Linked DNA regions of Homo sapiens: all the other regions are linked to region 6. The links are contacts of gene promoters, found by promoter capture Hi-C in blood cells and fetal thymus (Javierre and others, 2016). All regions are on one chromosome and are shown on one strand. The core of a region is centred on a gene start or on the middle of the fragment in contact, and the rest is flanking DNA. Distances in the headings are between cores, read along the strand shown.

Region 1 (3,195 bases), core at 592-3,091, 5.6 Mb after region 6:
CATGGCGAAACCCCGTCTCTGCTAAAAACACAAAACTTAGCTGGGCATGGTGGTGCACACCTGTAATCCCAGCTACTCGGGAGGCCGAGGCAAGAGAATCGCTTGAACCCAGGAGGAGGAGGTTGCAGTGAGCCTAGATTGTGCCACTGCACTTCAGCCTGGGTGACAGAGCAAGACTGTCTCAAAACAAGCAAACAAACAAACAAAAAATCCCACCGATAGTTTTCAAGGCTCTTAGTAACCTGCCTTTATTTTGCCTACACCACTTAATTTCACCCTCTTCCCCTACCTCAACCCTACATTATGGAGCAATTGCATTTCTGTCCTTCAAAAATATCACCGTATTCACTACCGTCTCCTTGAGTTCTTCCTATCTGCCAGCAGAGAGTCTTACCCAAGTCCTACTGCCTCTGTAAACTTTGACCTCCGTGGCTCAGTGATTTTTGCTTCTTTTGCCCATCTAAAGGCTTCTTTGTCTGTTAAACCTATGCCAAGTTTTGCTTTCACAAATGGCTCAGTTGAAAAATTTATTCAACATCCCACTCTGCATAGCTTGAATATACCTGAAATAGCTATTATTTGGAAACAGGCACATCCATATCTTTGCAGGACATCTTGGAATAGAGTTCATTAAGAAGTTTAATTAGCAGGAAATGATGTATGATAACATTAGTAAATGTCTGGTGGCTAAACTGACAAGGCCCTGTTTCCAAACTTCCCATGTGGTGAACACCTCACACTGCACTCACCATGGCTAAAGCTGTGGGAAGCACCTCTTTTCAAGCCTCATCATTTCCAGCCACAGCCTGCCTCTGACTCCACAAGAGCAAACTCTGTCAAACAGAGTGTTGTGGTTTTACTTACAGCTGTTCTGCTGGATGTTTTCAGTATTTATAAACCATGTGCTTGCTCTTAAAACTTGCAGAAAAGAGTTCAAATGCTCACATGTGTCTCTGAAGAAAATCATTGCCTTTCTCTCCTATTATCTTCTTTCTTTCTCCCAGTTTCTTCTCTCCTGTCTTAATCAGGGTAATTAACAGATAACTCCAAATTTTCATTGGCCTAAAATGATAAAAGTGTATTTCATGTCCCCATCACAGTCTATTGCAGGTTATGGGGATTATGGTGTAGGATTAGGCTCTACTCAGACATTCAAGGACGCAGGATGATAAAGGGTCCCATGGTCTGCCTGAGCAATGACATCCACCAGATGTGGGTGGGGAGGGGAGACAAAAAAAATGGGGGACGATGTTGGATATTTTAGGAGCTAGAACTGCAAGTCTCCCATCCACATTCTATTTGCCAGAACTCAGTCACAGGGCCCCACCTAACTGCAGGGAATGCTGGAAAATGTAATTTAGCTATGTTTTTGGGAAAAGAACAAAATGAGTTTGATGAACAAACCCTTCATTCCATTTGGCTAGGGAGAGGTTTATATATACGCTTCCTTGGAGGGCTAAGGAAGGGTATATGCAACCAGTCCACAGAAACATCCTTTGACATCTCATACATGCCAACAATGTGTTTGATGGGTCATACACAGTCCAGTTACATCTGTAACAAACATCTAGATCCTATATAATATACCGTCTTGTATAAATCTTGGATCGTCTCACATATACATTTGTTAATTCTTCAATGAGACTTCACAGTTGAGGGGGTGGCAGTGAGAGGAGACAAGCTAGAAAGGGCTGTTTTCCATAGGAAGGGAAAAAAGAAAACAACTTAGTTTTAGAAACTTAATTGAATGTATATCCACAGAACACGATATTACAAAATTAATCAGTGCGGAAAGTTGAGTGGAAAGATACTTATTTCTGAGCAAAAGATTGTATTGGGGACAGTTAATTTGGGTCTAGAGGCATGAAAACGCATATTTTAAAGACTCAAATGTAAGGTCTTAAAGGATGCACTCATAGTTTCACAATTAGGAGATTCCACTAGATGGCCCTGTTTCAAAGTGCTACAAAGCTGGAGATGTACAGCTTCCTGGTAACTGCAACTCTCAGACCTTTTCAAGTATTTAGGGCACTTTGTTATCAACTGTAGTTGATTTTTCTAAAATACTATTGATGTGGCAAATTTCATCGTTTAGTATGACATGGAAATGTTTTGGTAAAAGAATTTAGCCCAAAGTTTTCTTAACAGAGTATTTCGTTCTGAACAAATCATTTAAAATGAACAACCTGCACTGAAATGACAGCCTGTCCCCCAAAGTGCAGAATCAGCAGTGATGTTGCAAGAGTTCAGGAAGAAGCTGGAGCTGTAAATTTCCCTTGCTCCAAGTGGATTTTAAAGCCAACACAGATTCTGTCCCCCCTCCCTTTTCTAGCTCTATTTTGAGACACACATTTCAAAGTCCTAGGTTATTCCGCTATGTTATATGGATTTTGACAACTCCAAATAAGTCTAAACCACCCAATCAAAATATTTTCTGAAACTAAAATAGGATGATTATAATAAAAAGCTACAAAACCCATATTTATTAACTAGGGCCTGGTAGTTGTCCTTATTAGACATCTCCAGAATTGCTGACGAGATAGAACAGAGAATGCTAGTGTCTCTTTTTCCTAACTGTGCATTCATTAATACTGGCATCCTTTGTGTCAGGTATTTGCTCTCAAACCTAAAAGGAAGTTTATCCAATTAAAAATTAAAGACCAATGGTGGGATCTTCCACCACTTCTGCTCTCATCATTGCCTCCTGCAAATTTGATAGTGGCAACATTGGTTTATTCCCAGAAACAAAGGAAGCCAACAGCAGAGCCTCCACTCCTACCATCCATCAGGATTGTTCCTGTATGTAAATGGAGGCCCCACACTACACTCAACATTATTAAACGGTTCTTTTTTTTTTTTTTTTTTTTTTTTGAGATGGAGTTTCACTCTTGTTGCCCTGGCTGGAGTGCAATGGCATGATGTCAGCTCACGGCAACCTCCGCCTCCCTGGTTCAAGCGCTTCTCCTGCTTCAGCCTCCCCAGTAGCTGGGATTATAGGCATGCGCCACCACGCCCAGCTAATTTTGTATTTTTAGTAGAGATGGGGTTTCTCCACGTTGGCCAGGCTGGTCTCAAACTCCTAACCTCAGGTGGCCCGCCTCGGCCTCCCAAAGTGCTGGGTTTACAGGCATGTGCCACCACACCCAGCTCATTATTAAACAGTTCTAAGACACATCCACAATTGTAGATGAGAAA
Region 2 (3,666 bases), core at 1,119-3,618, 5.6 Mb before region 6:
GGGAAGAAATAAATGCAAGCAAATGCAAGTTAAATTACATTTATTATATAAAGAGATCCTATAACTTGATACGAAAAACAAAGCAACTCCAACAGATAACAGAAGGGCAAAAGGACAGGAACATCTGATCAAAGAAACACAGCTACCGATAGCACACAAATATTCAACCTCATTAATAATCAAAGGATTAGGATGCACTTCTTGCTTATTCAATAAAGTTAATAATTTCTAATTTTTCTACTTTTCAAATGTACTCAAATGTGCTATTTTTAGTAATAAAAAACTGAGTAATTAAAAAAACATAGAAAGTATGAAAATTTCTGCCAATGCAGAAATCATAAACAGCATTAAAATGAATCAACACTTGTATGGGCAGTAAGGTTCAGACCCCTAGAAGCCAATTCATTTTGCCTTGGTTCCTGAGTTTTATTATGGGATTGTCAATAAGGAGAAAGTTGTTCCTGATTTACATGCTGACAATCTTCCAGGTATAGGGGGTTGTGTGTGTGTATTACACACACACACAATGTATATATAAATTTTTTTTCTTCAGGTAGACAATTATTCCAGGAAAGTACCTCTTCAGAATCACTCATTACAGAGAATTCCTGTAACTCCATTTGCTGATAAAAGTCCCATTAAAAATTACCATGTGGTTCTCAACCAATAGGGATACCTTTGGCATTGAAGAGGCTGAGGGTTGATTTTAGTACTGCTTGTAAGACCATAGTGTTCCAGAGGCTCTGTAGCTGGCTTCTTTGGGAATCTGAAGTTGGTCCTGTCTTTGAGACATGGCCAAAAGCACATTTTTCCTCACTTGATGCAGAAGAAAATGTTATCTCCTGCTTGCTCAGATCATAGCCTCGAGGCAGATCACACAGCTCAGGATGCACATGGACTGGAACAGCACCAGGGCAAGCACCCCAAATCACAAAATAATCATGTTAGGATGACTAAGTTGGGAGGCTGAACTTAAAACCCTATAGCTTTGTTCAGAATATTTTTTTCTTTGCTTTTTTCATTAAGTTTTACTGACCAAAAAGGTGGAAAAAAGAACCTAAATTTTCTGCACAAAAGCAGTTCTCTGAAACCTGAACTTTACCAATCTGTGTAAAAGTACTCTACAGAAAATACACAAGCAGAAAACAGTAATGTAAGCTTCATCTGAAGTAACGGTTTAGTCACATGACAAATTTGGTTGTCGATTTAGTATGCTGTAGCCCTTATCTATCTAAATTCAGTATGACTACATAGACATTTATTCTCTGGTACTGAATTTCCATTTGAATAGAAACGGCTGCTTTGTGGAAGAAAGAAACTTCAATTTAAAAACAATTTCAGCATCGTTGAAGTGCCAATCAGTTTTCAAATTATGTGTGTGTATACATATGTATGTATGTGTGCATGCATGTATGTTTGTATTATGTGTATTTTTTCCTCCTCTCTCCCTCTCTTGCTCGCTCTAGAGAGAGATACCAAATACTGGCTTGGTGCTATACTGTTTTTTCCTAGTTAATATTTTTATTATTTCTGTCTACGTAAGAAACTTCAAATATTCTGAATGCAACCACACAATCGAGTAAGTTGACAGACATGACAAAAACTACGAAAAGAGGGAGGTAACTAGTATTAATACTTGGCAACCTTTCGTTATTTTTAGTTTAGAGCGGCCTCCCTCTGACATTTTGGAGTCAAAGATGAAAACTCAACTTTGAAGCATAATGGACATAATTACACATTTACCACAGTCATCTACAATTTTATATAACATCACAAAAAGACATCTAAACATTTTTCTACGTCTTTTTTTCATTTGTTAAAACAGCTATGTTAAATACATTTTCAGAATGCATTTGTTAGCCACTTGATAAACATACTAAAAGCCATACAAGACGAATAACATCAGTTACCTTTATATCTAATAACTGTACCAATCACTGTAAGAAGATACAACTGAAGGGGAAGTATTAGATCACCCATGACGTACTGCAAAGGTGTTACACCTTAGACCTAAGAATGATCTGAAGGTGCTGAAAGAGGTGATTCTCTAGAAGGTGACCCAGGGTTTTCTTCAGGTGGAAAAACTGTGAGTGTACAGGCTCGAATGCCACCAAGTGACTCTGGAAGATCAAAAACTTTATGCCACTCATCTTTTTCTGGGTCATATTTCTGGACAATTTCTACCATACAACGATTATTCCAAGAATATCCACCAACAACATAGATTTTATTTTCAAAGACGGCAACTCCAACATCACTTTGGCCTCTTAACATGGCGGCAATTGGGGTCCACTGGTCAAGGGTTGGTGAATAGTATTCACAGCTTAGAACATCATCATAATCACTTGTTCCTCTGAAGTGATTGCCACCAATGACATAGAGCTTATCTCCAACTGTACACATGCAATGCAGACCTCTGACTGTAGTCATTGGAGCCTTTTGCATCCATTTATCTGTATCTGGGTCAAAACACATGAGCTCATTTTGGAAAGTGTCATGGGTAATTCCTCCTGAAATATACATTAAGCCTCCATATACTGTTCCAGCATGACCATAGTGGGGTTCACTCATTTTTGCAACATAGCTCCACTCATTCATTCTTGGGTTGTAACATTCTACTGTGGCCAGTTCACCAGCTGCACTGCGCCCACCAACTGCATACAAATGTCCTTTGAGGGCACTCAAGTGAAAGAATGTGCGCTTTTCATTTAATGATGCAACCTGCATCCATTTATTATACCGAGGATCAAATCTGAAAACTGTATCAACAGCAGTTTTTCCTTTTGTATCATAATTACTCTGACCACCAACTACATAAAGAAAGTTTCCAATGACAGCAATACCATGCTGGTAACGGGGAGCATCCATTGGGGCTAAAGATCTCCATTCTTGTGCCCTTTCATCATACATCCGTAATTCTTTACTGACAACCAGCTGCTGCCTCAAAACTCCTCCTAATGTAACCAAGTGAGTGGAGTCAGATCGAATGGCAGTTCTATCTGACTGCATCACTGGCTGCATATATGGCATCATTTGGTAATTGCTAGCTTCCAAAAGCAAATTCACGCAGGTATTGTCTGTTCTCATGAAATCTACTGTCTGCACGTAATTGATGAGATCCTGTGGTGTCATCAGTGGAAATCGAATATTCTTCATTAACTTTGCAGCATAATCCATCCGAGGGTCTTCCAACCTTAGCCAGCGACAGGCTGCCTTAAAGAGTTCAAGTTCGGTACAGTGCTTAAGACTATTACTGGAAAGCACAAATGCAAGTCGTTCAAAAGGGAGTTTTAGAAACTCCCCAGTACTCAATAAAGCAGGAAAGTTCTTCAGGATGAAATTATTAACATATTTATCCACTTCTATAAGATTGTAGGTGTTAGCAATTCGTCCAACCTCAACACAGTTATCCAAAGAGACTCCTGATATAAGAAATACTTTACAGAAATCCAAAACGGGTAATATTTGTAAAAAGCTAGCAGCTTCAAGTGTGTCCTGAAGATTGTCCATATTAAGAGAAAGTTTTGCAGTATAAATAAAATCAATGATTTTCTTCAGACCAACCTTGTTCACCCCATGAAGCTTAATGCACATCAAATCTTGTTCTTTCATTCCACCTGTGAACATGGCTTTGAAATAATCACTAGCAGACGCCATCATAGCTCT
Region 3 (3,540 bases), core at 335-2,834, 5.6 Mb after region 6:
TTCAGCAGGCCAGGTGCGGTGGCTCACGCTTGTAATCCCAGCACTTTGGGTGGCCAAAGCAGGCAGATCACTTGAGGTCAGGAGTTCAAGACCAGCCTGGCCAACATGGCAAAACCTCATCTCTGCTAAAAATACAAAAATTAGTCAGCCATGGTGGCGGACACCTGTAATCCCAGCTACTTGGTAGGCTGAGGCAGGAGAATCACTTGAACCCAGGAGGCAGAGGTCGCAGTGAGCCGAGATCGCGCCACTGCACTCCAGCCAGGAGACACAGTGAGACCCTGTCTCAAAAAAAAAAAAGAAAAAAATTCAGCAGTGAATGTCCTTTTATGTTCTTTATGGAGTACAAACATCTTACCCCCAAAGCATGACACCTCTCTTTTGGGCATTTAGAACAGTCAAGAAGGATGGAGCTGCCCATTTGCCATGGAAATGGAGAGCCAGCAGACAGCTGATGCATAAACAACTTGTCCCTCAAACAAGAGTGGCTAACTTCAGCCATGACACCGTTTTAGTATGGTGACCACACCACATGAGCAAACCAAATACTGGTAAAACCAGAGAACAGAAGAATTCCTCAGCTCAGGACAATTCTTATCCCTACTGACGACTCACAAGACATCCAGTGAGTACCCCAAAGTTGTCCTCTGGAAGTTGGGCTGTCAGAAGGTACAAAAAATGATTCAGGCCAGGCACGGAGGCCCACGCCTGTAATCCCAGCACTTTGGTAGGCCGAGGCAGGTGGATCACCTGAGGTCAGGAGTTCGAGACCAGGCCGACCAACATGGCGAAACCCTGTCTCTACTAAAAATACAAAAATTAGCCAGGCATGGTGGCACATACCTGTAATCCTAGCTACTTGGGAGGTTGAGGCAGGAGAATCACTTGAACCCGGGAGGCGGAGGTTGCAGTGAGCCAGGATCACACTACTACACTCCAGCCTGGGCAACGAAAGTGAAACTCCACCTACAAAAAACAAACAAACAAACAATGATTCAGAAATGTACTGAAATCAGATTTGCCGGAAATATTTTTTAAGGTTTTTTCCAGGAGCTACTGGAGTGACCAAAAAAAAAAAAAGGCACCTGTTAAAATTATGCCCACGACAGGCCTCGAACAAAGACGAGAATATGGTGTGTATATGTCACTGGCGCTTTCACACAGGCCACTTCCTCTTCAACCTTGTCTGGGGTTTGTAGATTCTGTTCAGGTCATAGCTGGTTTTGTGGGTGGTTTTCTTATGGCAGACAACACTAATTTTAGGTTCTCTGAGGTAGAAAGCAGGCCATAAAAATATTCCCAGTCCACTTCTCTTCCATCTTGTTCTTTAACTGCTTCCACCAGTGTAGGAATGATGGTGCGTTTTTGTTTCCACTATGTGATCCAGGTTCCAGGTCCAGAAGAGGAGCCTGCTCTCCCTGTTACTGTAGGGGTTGATGGAGTATCTTGACAAGCAGCCGTCCATGTCGAAGGGACCCTGGCAGGAGAACTAGCCTTCCGGTGTGCAGAGACGGCTGCCACCCTTGGCTCCTCTGTTGTATAGCTGCCGTCGTACTGCACAGACTGGAGCTTCTGGCACATGGAGCGGAGGACCCGCAGGAATTCCTCCTGAGCCTCTGCACCCACCATGGAGGAGCAGGAGCTCACCTCTCTCAGGTAACTCCGGATCCGGCTTTCACAGCTGTATCTCAGATAGCCAGACTTATTCCAAAATCGGGACTCCAAGCCTTCAAACCACAGCGGGTCCTCAGCCCGGGTGTCGGCTGCGACGTTCTGGCTGACGTTGTACAGGAGGTCGGCCAGCAGTCTCTGCCTCTGTGGGGGCCTGCTCATCACACAGTAGCTGCCGGGCGGCCTGGATGAGCCACGCGTGCGGCTGGCGAAAAGCACTGAGGAAGCACCCGATGTCACTCACATAGCCCTGCCAGGCCTGGCGTGAGGTGAGCAGCACCAGCTCGGCATCGTCGAGGACGCTTCGGTCAGCTCCATGCCATCCTCGTACGAGGGAGCTAGAAGCAGAGGTAGCCCTTGCGCAGCATCTCCCGGCAGCTCCTGCCCGCCATGCCAAACTTCCTCGGGCTGCACAGGGCCCGCAGCTTCACAGTCTTGTGCTTCTGGAGCACTGCAGATGTACTCAACGCCTCTGGGCCCCGCAGGCAGTGGCACCCGCTGGCCAGCTGCTCAAGCTGGTCCAGGCCCCAGTCACAGGGCTCTACACCAGGTGTGCTCTGCAAAACTGGCATGGGCCGGGAACCGATCCCAGAAACTCAGTGCCATTTTGCTAACAGCATGTGTTCACTTCACGTCTCTGTGCCATATTTTGGTAATTCTCCCAATATTTCAAACTTTTTCAGATGGAGTCTCGCTCTGTCACCCAGGCAGTGGTGCGATCTTGGCTCACTGCAACCTCCTTCTCCCAGGTTCAAGGGATTCTCCTGCCTCAGCCTCCCCAGTAGCTGGGACTACAGACGTGCACCAAGCCCGGCTAATTTTTGTATTTTAGTAGAGATGGGGTTTCACCATGTTGGCCAGGCTGATCTTGAACTCCTCACCTCAGCTGATTTGCCCACCTCAGCCTCCCAAAGTGCTGGGATTACAGGTGTGAGCCACCATGCCTGGCCTCAAACTTTGTCACTATTGTTATATTAATATTTGTTATGGTAATCTGCACTCAGTGATTTTTGATGTTACTACTACAAATTTTAGGGGCAACACAAATCACACCCATATAAGATAGTGAATTTAATAAGTAAATGTTGTGTGTTGTGACTGTTCCACCAACTGGCCATTCCCCACCTCTCTCCCTCTCCTTGGACTGTCCTATTCCCTGAGACACAACAATACTGAAATTAGGCCAATTTAATAACACTACAATGACCTCTAACTGTTCAAATAAAAGAAAGAGCTGCATGTTTCTCACTTCATATCAAAAGCTACTTGGTAGGCTGAGGCAGGAGAATTGCTTGAACCTGGGAGGCGGAGGTTGCAGTGAGTCGAGATGGCACCACCGCACTCCAGCCTGAGTGACACAGCAAGACCTTGTCTCAAAAAGAAAAAAAAAAGATAGTGATTCCTCTGATGGATCTAGGCAAAGAAAATGGAAAATCTTCTGGGAAAGAATTTACTATCCTATATGCCATTAAGAAGATTTGTGATTAACAGGAGGAGGTCAAAGTATCAACATGAACAAGAGTTTGGAAGAAGTTGATTTCAACTCTCGTGGATGACTTTGAGGGGTTCAGGAATTCGGTGCAGGAAGGAACTCGATGTAGTGGATATAGCAAAAGAACTAGAATTAGAAGTGGAGCCTGACCATGTGACTGAAGTGCCTCCATCACATGATAAAGCTTGATAGATGAGAAGGTGCTCCTTTTGGATGAGCAAACAAAGTGGTTTCTTGAGATGGAATCTGCTCCTGGTGAAGATGCTATGAACATTGTTGAAATGACAACAAAGAATTTCGAATATTACATAATCTTAGTTGATAAAGCAGCGGCATGGTTTGAAAGGCCTGACTCCAATTTTGAAAGTTATACTGTG
Region 4 (3,663 bases), core at 292-2,791, 5.2 Mb before region 6:
CAAAAATAAACTCAAAATAGATTTCAGATTTAAATGTAAAGCCCAAAACTGTAAAATTTCTAAAAGAAAACGTAGAGGAAATGCCCTGTGATACTGGTCTGAACAGTGGTTTCTTGGATACAACATAAAAAGCATAGGAAATAAAAGAAAAAATAGACAAATGAGACTGTATCAAACAGAAAAATCTTCTGGACAGCAAAGGAAATAATAGAGTAAAGGAACAACCCAAGAATTCGGATAAAATATTTGCAAATCTGTCTTCTGATAAGGGCCTAATATCCAAAATATATAAGGAACTAAAACAATTCAGTAGCAAGAAAACAACCTGATTTAAAAAATGGGCAAAGGACCAAAGTAGACATTTCTCAAAAGAAGATAAATGGCCAACAGATACATGAAAAACTATTCAACATCATCAATCATCAGGGAAATGCAAATTAAAATCACAATGAGATATCAAGTCATTTCTATTAGAACGGCTATTATCAAAAAGATGAAAGAGAACAAGTGTTGGAGGGGGATGCGGAGAAAAGGGAACCCTTGTGCACAGTGGTAGGAAGGTAAATTAGTATAATCACTTCAGAAAACAGTACAAAGTTTCCTTAAACAAACAAAAATACAATTACCATATGATCCAGCAATTCCACTTCTGGACATACATCCAAAGAAAATGAAATGAGTATGTCAAGGAGATATGTGCACTTTCATGTTTATTGAAGCATTGTTCACAATAGCCAAGACGTGAAATCAACCTAAGTGTCCATTATGAATGAATGGATAAAGATGATACACAATTGAATATTATTCAACCTTTAGGAAAAGAAGGAAATTCTGCCCTTTGTGACAATGAGGATGAACCGGGAGAAAATTATGCTAAGTAGAATAGGCCAGGCAGAGAAACACAAATACTGTACTGCATGATCTTACTTATATATGGAATCTAAAAAAGTCAAACTCATAGATGTAGAGAGTAGAACGGTGCCTACCAGAAGCTGGAGATTTGGAGGTAGTGATTATTTGAATGGGGAAAGGGAAGATGTTGATCAAAGGGCACAAAGTTTCAGTTAGACAGAAGGAATAAGTCTGTGATCTATTGCACAGCATGGTGACTATAATTAAGAATAATGTTTTATATATTTCAAAATTGCTAAAAGAGTATATTTTAAACGTTCTTACATAAAGAAATGCTAAGTATCTGAGATAGAAAATATGTCAGTTTGATTTAATTATTCTATAATGTGCATATATGTTCATATATAACATCTCCTGAATATATACAATTCAGGATATATATATATATACATATGTCTCCTGAATATATACAATTATTGTCAATTAACAATAAAATTAAGAAAGATATAGCAAGCAAAAAATACTCCTCTTCCACTTTCCCTCAGTACTTTACAAATACATTTCCCACTGCATTCTTATGAAGTGCTAGTTTAGTAATTAGTAAGCCTCTTTATACTTCACCCTCATTTTAAGTCACCGTTTCCATCTATTTTCCTTTACTGAAATCTGCCTATCCTTTCACTCTACAGCTTTCTCTTAAGGAGGTTGTTATTTTTCCATTCCCTACATACTAGGGGACTGTGATGAAGGGTAGCAATCTCCTGGTTTCTCATTGCCAACTCCAGGTTGGTTTGCTTCCATGGCCTCTAGAAAAACTAATGCTATTAGAAGGTGGTCTCTTCCATCTGGCTCTACCATCCTCTGATCATCCCTGTGGCTTTGATTTACCAGCCCCTCCAACAGCTGGACCTTGTATCATGGTCTTCGTCTTACCCCAAGTCCTATCTGCCACAGTTCTAGGAGATGTAATATGAATGTAGACAATACACACATGGAGATTTAAAAAAAAACAAACCACCTTCCCCCTTTCCCCCATCTGACTAATTCACTTGCTCACTTCTTGGATCTTTCCATAACCTTTAGAACTTATTACTCTTCTAAAACCTTGAGCTCCGATATCTCCCTCCAGGACCTCCTCTCCTTCCCTCTTTCACATTCCCTCACCCTACCCTCATGGCTCTTAGACTCCTTTAAGTCCTCCAGTCCCTTGATCCTCCACCCCCTTGATCCTCCACCTTCCCCCATCATCCAGGTCCTTCATGGCTTCATTGTTCCCCACAGGGCTGGATTTCTTTGATTGATAAGATAAACTTATACTTCCCCAACATCCTCAATTCCTTGAGGTCCTATCTGATCAGACAAGGGTGAAGGGCTGTCAGAAAAAATTACACGCCCTTGCAGATTGGTACCATTTCTAATTCATGGTCCCTAATCTGACATGGTCAAATCTTTGTCATCTTTTCTCAAACTCATTATGCAACCCTTATCTCTTACTTTGTTAAGAAAATTATACCATCAAGAGTCGTCTTTCTTAGGTTCACAGCACCTACTCTTAAACTATCTAGAGGCCCCATTCTTACCTCCTTTCTTCCAGCCCCATGTCTCCATTCTAATAGAGGACTATGATTTCTGTCAGAGCTTCTGATCCCATTCCTCTGGGATCTTGGGCCATTAGCCATACCTCTCTTAGTGTCTTCCATTTTTTCTTCTTTGTGAACTTCTTTTCACTTGCTTACAAACACGCTCAAAACTCTCTCCTTAGTAAAAGAAAAAAAAAATACCCCATTGACTACCTATCCTCTGCTGTTCATCTCCCAGTATCTCCTCCCTTTTCATCCAGACTTTATGAAGTACAGGTTTGTTGTTTCTTTTCCTCACCCACAGGCTGTTCACACTCTCTCCAATTTGCCAGAGTTTCGCTCTTGAGGCAATAGTCCATGTGAATTTTGTATTGGGTATTTGAAAAAAAAAATTCCGGAGTAAAATAAGGGTGAGAGCTCTGTGTGTGAAGAAGTATTTAAAAGCTATTTGGGTTTTAAATTGTATTAAAAGTCAGAAAATTTAAAAACAAGTCTTCCTTAAGCATTTCTGTTCAACTTACAAATCTTTTTATACTGTTTACAAGTTGAGTATAATGAGAAATATCACCTTTACTTTTTTATTGATTACTGTATTAGCTATTTTTGGATTAACATTTCTAAATTGAACAGAATAATTTTCCTCAATACTTTAATTATATTCGATTAAATATTTTAAACAGTTTTTCAAAAATTTGACTTTAATTTTTAAGCATTTCAAATGTCTGACAGGACAAATTTACAATACCTATAAACAAAATGTTTCCGAGAACTCAGATAATGCTTGAAATAAAATTATTTATACTCAGGAAATATAACAAATCAAAGTACCTTATATAATCTGATAATATACGGAAACTTAGTCAAATTATTTTTGCCTTTTAGCTTAAAATCAAACTTAAAATCAATTGCATATTCAATTGGAATTATGAGGATAACCTCTGAAATTCTATGTATTTTATATACTGTATAAAGTTTTAAATAAGAAACAGAGTTTTTCTTTAAATTTAGCACAAATGCTATGTTTGCTTTATTTCGACATTTCTATATTTAATTCAAAACCATCCCATGGTGGAAAGGCACTTACCTAGAGTGACCATAAAATATATCTTCTAAACTGGGACACATTTGAGAGGGAAAAGGGGAACACTAAAAATAATTAAAACTTGTTAATTGATCTACAGTAGGTATAAACCAGGACTATCCCAGCCAAACCAGGCTGATGGTCACTCCT
Region 5 (3,701 bases), core at 407-2,906, 5.4 Mb after region 6:
ACAAAGACAGTAGGCTGGGCACGGTGGCTCATGCCTATAATCCCAGCACTCTAGGAGGCTGAGGCCGGAGGATCGCTTGAGCTCAGGAGTTCCAGACCAGCCTGGACAATATAGTAAGACCCTGTCTCTATAAAAAAAATTAAAAATTATTCAGGCATGGTAGTGCATGCCTGTAGTCCCAGCTATTCAGGAGGCTGAGGTGGAAGGATTGCCTGACCCTGGGAAGTCAAGGTGGCAATGGACTGTGTTCGTGCCACTGCCTTACAGCCTGGGTGACAGAGTGAGGGCCCTAGCACTTTGGGAGGCCGAGGCAGGTGGATCACCTGAGGTCAGGAGTTCGAGACAGCCTGGCCAACACGGTGAAACCCCGTCTCCACTAAAAATACAAAAATTAGTTGGGCATGGTGGTGGGCGCCGATGGTCCCAGCTACTCGGGAGGCTGAGGCACGAGAATCACTTGAACCCAGAGGCAGAGGTTGCAGTTAGCCCAGATTGCACTCTTTTGCCTGGGCAACAGAGCGAGACTCGTCTCAAAAATAAATAAATAAAAAATAAAGACAGTAAAATAAAGACATTTCACAACAAATGAAGCCTGAGAATATTTATCACCAGTAGAAAATGTTTTCTTCTTAATACTTATTCTGTCTTTTCTTGAGACAAGGTCTCACTCTCTGTCACCCAATTATTGATTCTCCTAATGCTAACCATCCTCTCAGCTTTTTACGGCTAGCAATGTGTTTGCCACATACTCATCAACAGAGGGCAGTAGCTCACCATCATTGGTTTAGTTAGCCTGCATGGTACTTTCAAGGATGGACTTGTAACAGACAAATGTATCTTTCTGTGTCGTCTGTTGTCGTTTCCTCCCACCAAGTATGGGAGAAGGGAGGAGAGGAACTACTAAGAAGCAGTCAACAAAAATGGTAAAAGTATGCTTGAATCTAAACAAATATTGACCCTATAAACAGAAATAATAATGCCTTCAAGAGTTACAATGTGTGACTATAAAATACAAGATAACAATGGCATAGAAATCAAAAGGAGGGTACATGAAGTTAGAAGGTTGTAAGAACCTGGAATTATCTGGGGAAAAAAAGATAAAAAATAACAATTAACATTAGATTTTGATATGTGAAAGATGAATGCTGTACTATCGTGGGCAAACATTAAAATAATATCAGTAAAGCTGTGGGAAAATAATAAAACAATAAGTTCTCAGGTCCCTCAGAGTAAGAATTAATCATAGTCATTTTTGGACTCATCACACCAAGCTCTTAGCAGAGCCAGTTTGTGGACTGATTAAGTTTCTGCTCTCTAACTTCTAGGACAGTCAGTAAATGTGAAATTAAGGAACAAAAGGTAGCTTTCTTAATCCATTTATGTCTTCTTAATACTTATTCTCCGTCTCTCTTTGAGACAAGTTCTCACTCTGTCGCCCAATTGTTTTTTCTCTTAATGCTAACCATCCTCTCAGCTTTTTCTGTTTGACAATGTGTTTACCACACACTCATCAACAGAGGGCAGTAGCTCACCATCATCTGGTTAAGTTAATCTGCATGGTACTTTGAAGGATGAACTTGGAACAGACGAAATGTTTGCTGTTTCCTCCCACCAAGGATGGGGCAAGGGAGGAGGGAAAGAGGATTTTCCATTTTAAAAAGCACTTAGAGCCAGGCACAGTGGTTCACACCTGTAATCCCAGCACTTTGGGAGGTCGAGGCAGGAGGATTGCTTGAGCTCAGAAGTTTGAGACCAGCCTGGGCAACATGAGGAGATCCCACCTCTATAAAAAATTTTAAAATTAGCTGAGTGTGGTGGCACACACCTTTGGTCCCAGCTACTCAGGAGGCTGAGGTAGGAGGATTGCTTGAGCCCAGGAGGTCGAGGCTGCATTGAGCCGTGATCCTGCCACTGCACTCCAGCCTGGGCAACAGAGAAAAATCCTGTCTCAAGAAGAAAATTTAAAAAGCACTTAAACTGACATGTGGAAGTAATCTCATCATAAACTGGAATTAGAAATGAGTCAAATTAGTGACAAATTTTTATTTTTACTCTCATTTGTCAACATTACCAAATTATTTTCTTGAAAAAAATGTTTTATTTTGTGTATACCTAAATAATTTAAAGGACCAATCCTGCAGAGTACTTCCCTCTCCCTTCTGAAAAATATATAACACAAAGTACTCAAAAAGTATCCAGCAAATTAACACATGTGAAAGATGGTACTAGACACCTAGGAATTATGTACCAATCCTGGAATTCATACTCAAGCTGCCCCTGATTTCCAACACCTCCATCCCCCAGAATGAGGACTCTCTTTACCCAGGTGTCCCTACATTACATGGCTGCAGCAGGGATCTCTGTGCTATCATCAGGGAGAACAAGCCCTGGAAATACGTGAATAAGGAATTCCAGCCTATATGGTGATAGAACAAATCTTTTCTCTAGAACATTTAAGTCCCTCTTCTGCAAAGAACAAATAATTTACAGCTTCAGGGTATCTGATGATTTTGTTGCATAATGCTTAAAAGCACAAGCTATGGAGTGAGGCCAGCCTTCTCTAAAACCCCAGGATCACCCTTTAAGTTTCATGACTGAAGCATTCTGTGTAACTACTCTGAATCTCAGTTTCCTCATCTGTGAAACTATGGCAATAACAATGTTACCAGCATCAACAGGCGGTTGTGAAGATTTTTATTATTAGCTATATTGAGAGGAATGGTGCTTAACTGTAAGCAGCTGCCCAGAGGATTCTTGTTCCCTGGGAAGGCAGTTCAGGGATCAGGCCCTTAGGCAGTAATTAAGAGAGCATGCAAATTAAGCGTATAGCAGGTGTGGTGAGAAGAGGGCATCAGGGGAGAGCAGTTGGCTATTTACCGGGAACCAAGATGAGGCTAAGACCTGCCTCTCCTTGTTATGAATATAACTTTGATTTTAAGAGGAACAAAACATTTATTTCAAATTTTCTCTAGTATGAAGACATATATTCAGTGAAAAATTTAGGGATTCTAAAGTCCCCTCAAAGCATTCAGGAGGACCATTTTATACTTCATTCATTGCCAAACAGATGTCTTCCCTCCGTGCCACTCTAGAGGACTCTGAACAGCGCAAAGGCCAACAGAGAGCAAAGGGTAAGCAATAGAAAGACACTGACAGTAAGTCAGTCAACAAACTTGTATTGAGCACCTACTATGCACCAGACTCCATGTTAGGGATGATGAACAAACTGACATGGGCCCCTGCCCTCATGGAGTGTATATTTCTAGGTAACAGGTCTTTGGTGCCAATCTGGGGACATGCTACAGCAGAATCACCTGTGGTAAAAATGTAGCGTATTCAGAATCTGAACACAGACCCCCACCCTGACCTAATGAATCAGACATTCTAGGAGGCAGAGGATACAGGAGGCTATATTTTTATCAGTGCCCTATGGTAAATCTGAGAAACACCCAGATTCGGAGAACTACCATTGGTGTTTCTCAAAGCATGGTCTTTTGACCACCCACATCAAACTCAGCCTCCTAAGAGCACAACACAGGCACGCATGTTTTCAATGTACCCCAAGGTTTGAGAAGCGTTATGCTTGACTTTTTCTCTTACACCTCTCCCTTCCTATTAAATGACATGTATGTGAAAATGCAGTATAAATTGTAAAGCATGATACAAAGTTAGTTGGGTATAGTTCCTAGGACCTTTCAATA
Region 6 (3,353 bases), core at 708-3,207:
AGCTGCCTAATTCATGAATTGCTGTCTGTTCAAATAAGCTCTTTAAAATTTTAATGTGCCAAAGTTTACCTTTTAACAGATAGGAATAGTACAGGGTGCACTGAGGACATATAATGAGGTGGGGGGCCAGAAGGAGTTGGAGCACTAATCTAGTATGGACTGGCAGAGAAGACCTCTCTAATAAAAGACATTTGGGTTAAGACCTGAATGATGAACAGGACTTTGGACAGTGAAAAGCAGAGGGACAAAGATTCCAGGAAGAGAGAATTGCAGTGAAAAGGACTAGAGACAGAAAGGAACTTGAAACACAAGTAGTCTTACAATAAACTTAAAATTTGACATAACCTAATTACTAACCAAATTACAACTTGATATAACCTAATTCCAATTTGATATAACCTTAAAAGCAACAGAACCTAATACATAATGATCCAAAGTCAAATAAGATATGGTGCCTACTCTAAGGAAGCTCAGAGGCAAATAAGTGAGATGTATTCCTATTCTCTATTCCTTTTTCATCATGAAAAAGAAATGGGGACAGGGATCAATACTTACTACCTAAATGAGCTTAAGCAAATTATTTAATCTCTTTAAAACTTGGATAATAGTATCTGTCCTGCCAATTTCAACTGTTAATATCTGTCAGGGTCCTTAAGTGCAAGGAACAGAAATCATCTATAAATGATATAAAAGCTGAAAATGAATTTATTAAAGGACATTAAGCAGCTCACAGACTCTCCCAGAAGCTGAAGAAACAAGCTAGAGGTTCTCCTCCCAATAAAGCCTCTGAGTACCTAACACTGCAGCTTGCAACAACACACTGATGCTGGACACTGGTTGCTGGTGATAGAACATTGCAGTCTCGGAAACGATGTAGTTACTGCGGCTGTCACCCTTACTTCAACAGACTCTCTGAAGTCCTGCTTCTGGTTGTCATTCAAGTTTGAGTTGAGTCCACCAAATTAGATTGGAGAGTCTAGCAAGCAATAATACTCATGTCCCAGTAATAAGGAAGACTAGGAAAGCCAGTATCTGTCACTTTCAGTTCCTGTAAGGGTGTTGGGGGGCAGGGTAAGGGAGAAACTCTGCCAAAAGGATGACAAATGGCCACTGCAAATAGGGTGAGCTCAAATGAGATAATTACATGAAAATGTTTCACAAACTAAGGGAGAATTCAGCCACATAACATTATCTCATTTTGTGTTGTATTGATTTTTAACTCCTCGAAGGCAGGCAAGTTGGAAATAATGTGTAAAATAATGTTAAAATCCCAATACATATGCAATCACATTTAAGCTGTTATCAATGAAGATTGGAAGGAAACATACAGTAAAAGTTATTTTATTAGAGAAGTGGGATTTAAGGTGAAGTAGTTCTTAAATTAAAAAAAAAAAAAAAAAGGACACTTTCCATTGAATTCACAGTCTTCCCCACAAACTTGGATCCAAATTCTAATGAAAGGAAGCTTAAAGACGCAAAGCTTCTGGTGAAAGCAGGAACGGAACAGTTGGTGCCAGAATCGCATCCATACTTCATGATGCGTTGTGTACGCTATGCCGTCCTAATAGGAAGGAAAACTACCACAAATTAGGAGTTTAGAAAATTGCACAATGCTGCCTACCACTTAACTTCAAATGTAACCTGTTAACAACGTTAGCCGACGTGAGGTTACCTAGGGACATAGCAAAACTCGCTAGAGTTACTTCAAGTAAGGCACACGGAGGTTGCTCTGATTATCAAGAAAACCAAACGTTCACATAAAATGTTTGTCTTCCAGCCGCCCCGCTGTTTTCCACTTTTTCCAAAAAGCACTGAAGCGTGGTGAAGAAACAAACATATCCTCAATTCTCGCGAGAGCTCCGTGTGTAACCAAGGGCTGAGGCGGAGGATTGGTCACTCAGGATGAGGAGCCTCCGCTATCCCGCCCCCGTTGCCGGGATACGCCGCGGCGCACGGCAGTTAGTGGGTAGGCCTGAGAGCCGAGGAAAACTGAGCGTGGGCCTCAGAAAGAAGTTAAGGCACCCGCGAGCCGGGCAACTGCCCTCCTTCCGCGCCGGCGGAGGTGAGAATCCCCGGGTCCCATCTCTTCCTCCCTCCCTCCCACGTCTGTTCTCTTGCCTTGGAGATGCTGATCCGCTCCAAACAAAACAAATTCAAACTCGGTCTTAGCTAACTGTTACCGTCGGGCCTGTAGCCAGGCCAGGCATGTACCAATTCTAGTCGAGCGAAGGTTGCGAACAGACCTCCTCCAACAGCCCGACCCCTCCCCGACCCCCCGCAGGAGACCCGCCAAGCACAGAGCAGAGGGAAGGACCGCGATGGGCTGAAGGATTTTAGTCAAAGCAATACATTTCTGCCTCTTACAGTGGAAGGGACTTATTTCTGTCTGTTGATCACAGTGCGGGCAGTTAGCAACTTTCCACTTATTCACCTGTGTGAGAATGGTTGGCTTAGGGAGGATAACGATAGTAATAATAATTAGAAGCAGATGTTTTAAATGTAATACTTATCGTCTTCACAACAGCCCTGCAAGGTAGATGTCACCCTTCTGTTTTACAGAAGATGAAATCCTGAGGGGTTAATTAAGGTGGCAAGATTATGCAGCCGCTAACTTTGTCAGCACTAGTTTGTATCGCTAATCATTCTGGATCCAAAGGCCAGGCTGCCTCTCTGTGTGAATAATTGGAAATTGTGTGACTCTTTGATTGAATAACCCCGAAGTTAGTGGTATATTTGTTGCTAATGCCCGCCTCTTAATCCCACTGGTAATAATATAATGGTAAGCTTTTTTTCACCACAGTAAAACGGTGGCAAAGAAAATTGGGTGAAATTTTTTATGTTGTACATTTTCTCAAAGTTAGCAGGAAACCTAGAGTAATATCTTTTCCACTGGAAAGAGATGTTTATTGTACTCGTTTTCTTCTGGAAAAACCATTTTGATCATACACCGTCTTCCTTTTCAAAGAGTCATTTCATGAAATTCCTTTTTCCATTTGAAATTCTTTTGCTTTGTACATAGAGTTCAAAATGGCAAGGAATTAGAATCAGGGAGCTAGTGGGGTCAGGAAGATTGATGTGAACATATTCAAATGAGATATCTGAATGGAAATTTCAGATAAACAATTGAAAACTCAAAATTGGTGCCCAGTTGAAAGGGCAGAACTGTAGACATTGATTAGTGAGCCGTACACATAGTTGGAGTTATAAAGATGCATGACTGTAGAAAGGATAGAAGCAGTCCAAGGACTGATTACGAGTAATGCTAAGAAAAGTCAGAAAAGTAGTACTGGACATAGAGTGTAGAAACAGAGAAATCATTTTAGTCCAACACACGCTTTGTTTGCCTTTTTTTT

Evidence for each region. Contacts are between HindIII fragments. The CHiCAGO score rates a contact against its expected background, and 5 or more counts as called.
Region 1: a fragment that was not itself captured here is called in contact with the fragment with the promoter of IFT74 in region 6 in 2 of 17 cell types (activated CD4 T cells and non-activated CD4 T cells); the score reaches 7.1 in activated CD4 T cells.
Region 2: a fragment that was not itself captured here is called in contact with the fragment with the promoter of IFT74 in region 6 in 5 of 17 cell types (non-activated CD4 T cells, naive CD4 T cells, total B cells and 2 more); the score reaches 18.5 in non-activated CD4 T cells.
Region 3: a fragment that was not itself captured here is called in contact with the fragment with the promoter of IFT74 in region 6 in 12 of 17 cell types (non-activated CD4 T cells, activated CD4 T cells, total CD4 T cells and 9 more); the score reaches 30.0 in non-activated CD4 T cells.
Region 4: a fragment that was not itself captured here is called in contact with the fragment with the promoter of IFT74 in region 6 in 1 of 17 cell types (fetal thymus); the score reaches 6.4 in fetal thymus.
Region 5: a fragment that was not itself captured here is called in contact with the fragment with the promoter of IFT74 in region 6 in 7 of 17 cell types (naive CD8 T cells, non-activated CD4 T cells, total CD4 T cells and 4 more); the score reaches 14.7 in naive CD8 T cells.

The regions. Positions count from the first base shown.
Region 1 is chr9:32,587,325-32,590,519 of GRCh38, forward strand. No RefSeq gene overlaps it. Among named protein-coding and RNA genes, the nearest start is that of NDUFB6, 16 kb to the left of the region's middle. The HindIII fragment of the contact is 6,567 bases long and covers 1-3,195 here.
Region 2 is chr9:21,330,996-21,334,661 of GRCh38, forward strand. KLHL9 (kelch like family member 9) reads right to left here. Exons shown (of 1, transcript NM_018847.4): 1 at 1-3,666. The coding sequence ends at 2,011. The region is part of intron 2 of LOC107987053 (a long non-coding RNA gene); the gene reads left to right. Among named protein-coding and RNA genes, the nearest start is that of KLHL9, 2.6 kb to the right of the region's middle. The HindIII fragment of the contact is 2,424 bases long and covers 1,157-3,580 here.
Region 3 is chr9:32,565,004-32,568,543 of GRCh38, forward strand. All of the region lies in intron 2 of NDUFB6 (NADH:ubiquinone oxidoreductase subunit B6), which reads right to left. It also overlaps a transcript of SMIM27 not described here and the pseudogene DFFBP1. Among named protein-coding and RNA genes, the nearest start is that of NDUFB6, 6.4 kb to the right of the region's middle. The HindIII fragment of the contact is 3,522 bases long and covers 1-3,345 here.
Region 4 is chr9:21,791,805-21,795,467 of GRCh38, forward strand. No RefSeq gene overlaps it. Among named protein-coding and RNA genes, the nearest start is that of MTAP, 9.0 kb to the right of the region's middle. The HindIII fragment of the contact is 8,774 bases long and covers 1-3,663 here.
Region 5 is chr9:32,377,936-32,381,636 of GRCh38, forward strand. No RefSeq gene overlaps it. Among named protein-coding and RNA genes, the nearest start is that of ACO1, 4.9 kb to the right of the region's middle. The HindIII fragment of the contact is 6,065 bases long and covers 1-3,701 here.
Region 6 is chr9:26,954,455-26,957,807 of GRCh38, forward strand. It overlaps IFT74 (intraflagellar transport 74), which reads left to right and starts at 1,958. Exons shown (of 20, transcript NM_025103.4): 1 at 1,958-2,062. IFT74-AS1 (IFT74 antisense RNA 1) reads right to left here and starts at 1,853. Exons shown (of 2, transcript NR_121605.1): 1 at 1,673-1,853; 2 at 1,326-1,561. RefSeq lists enhancers at 1,170-1,905, 1,906-2,640 and a silencer at 3,237-3,353. The HindIII fragment of the contact is 1,304 bases long and covers 1,479-2,782 here.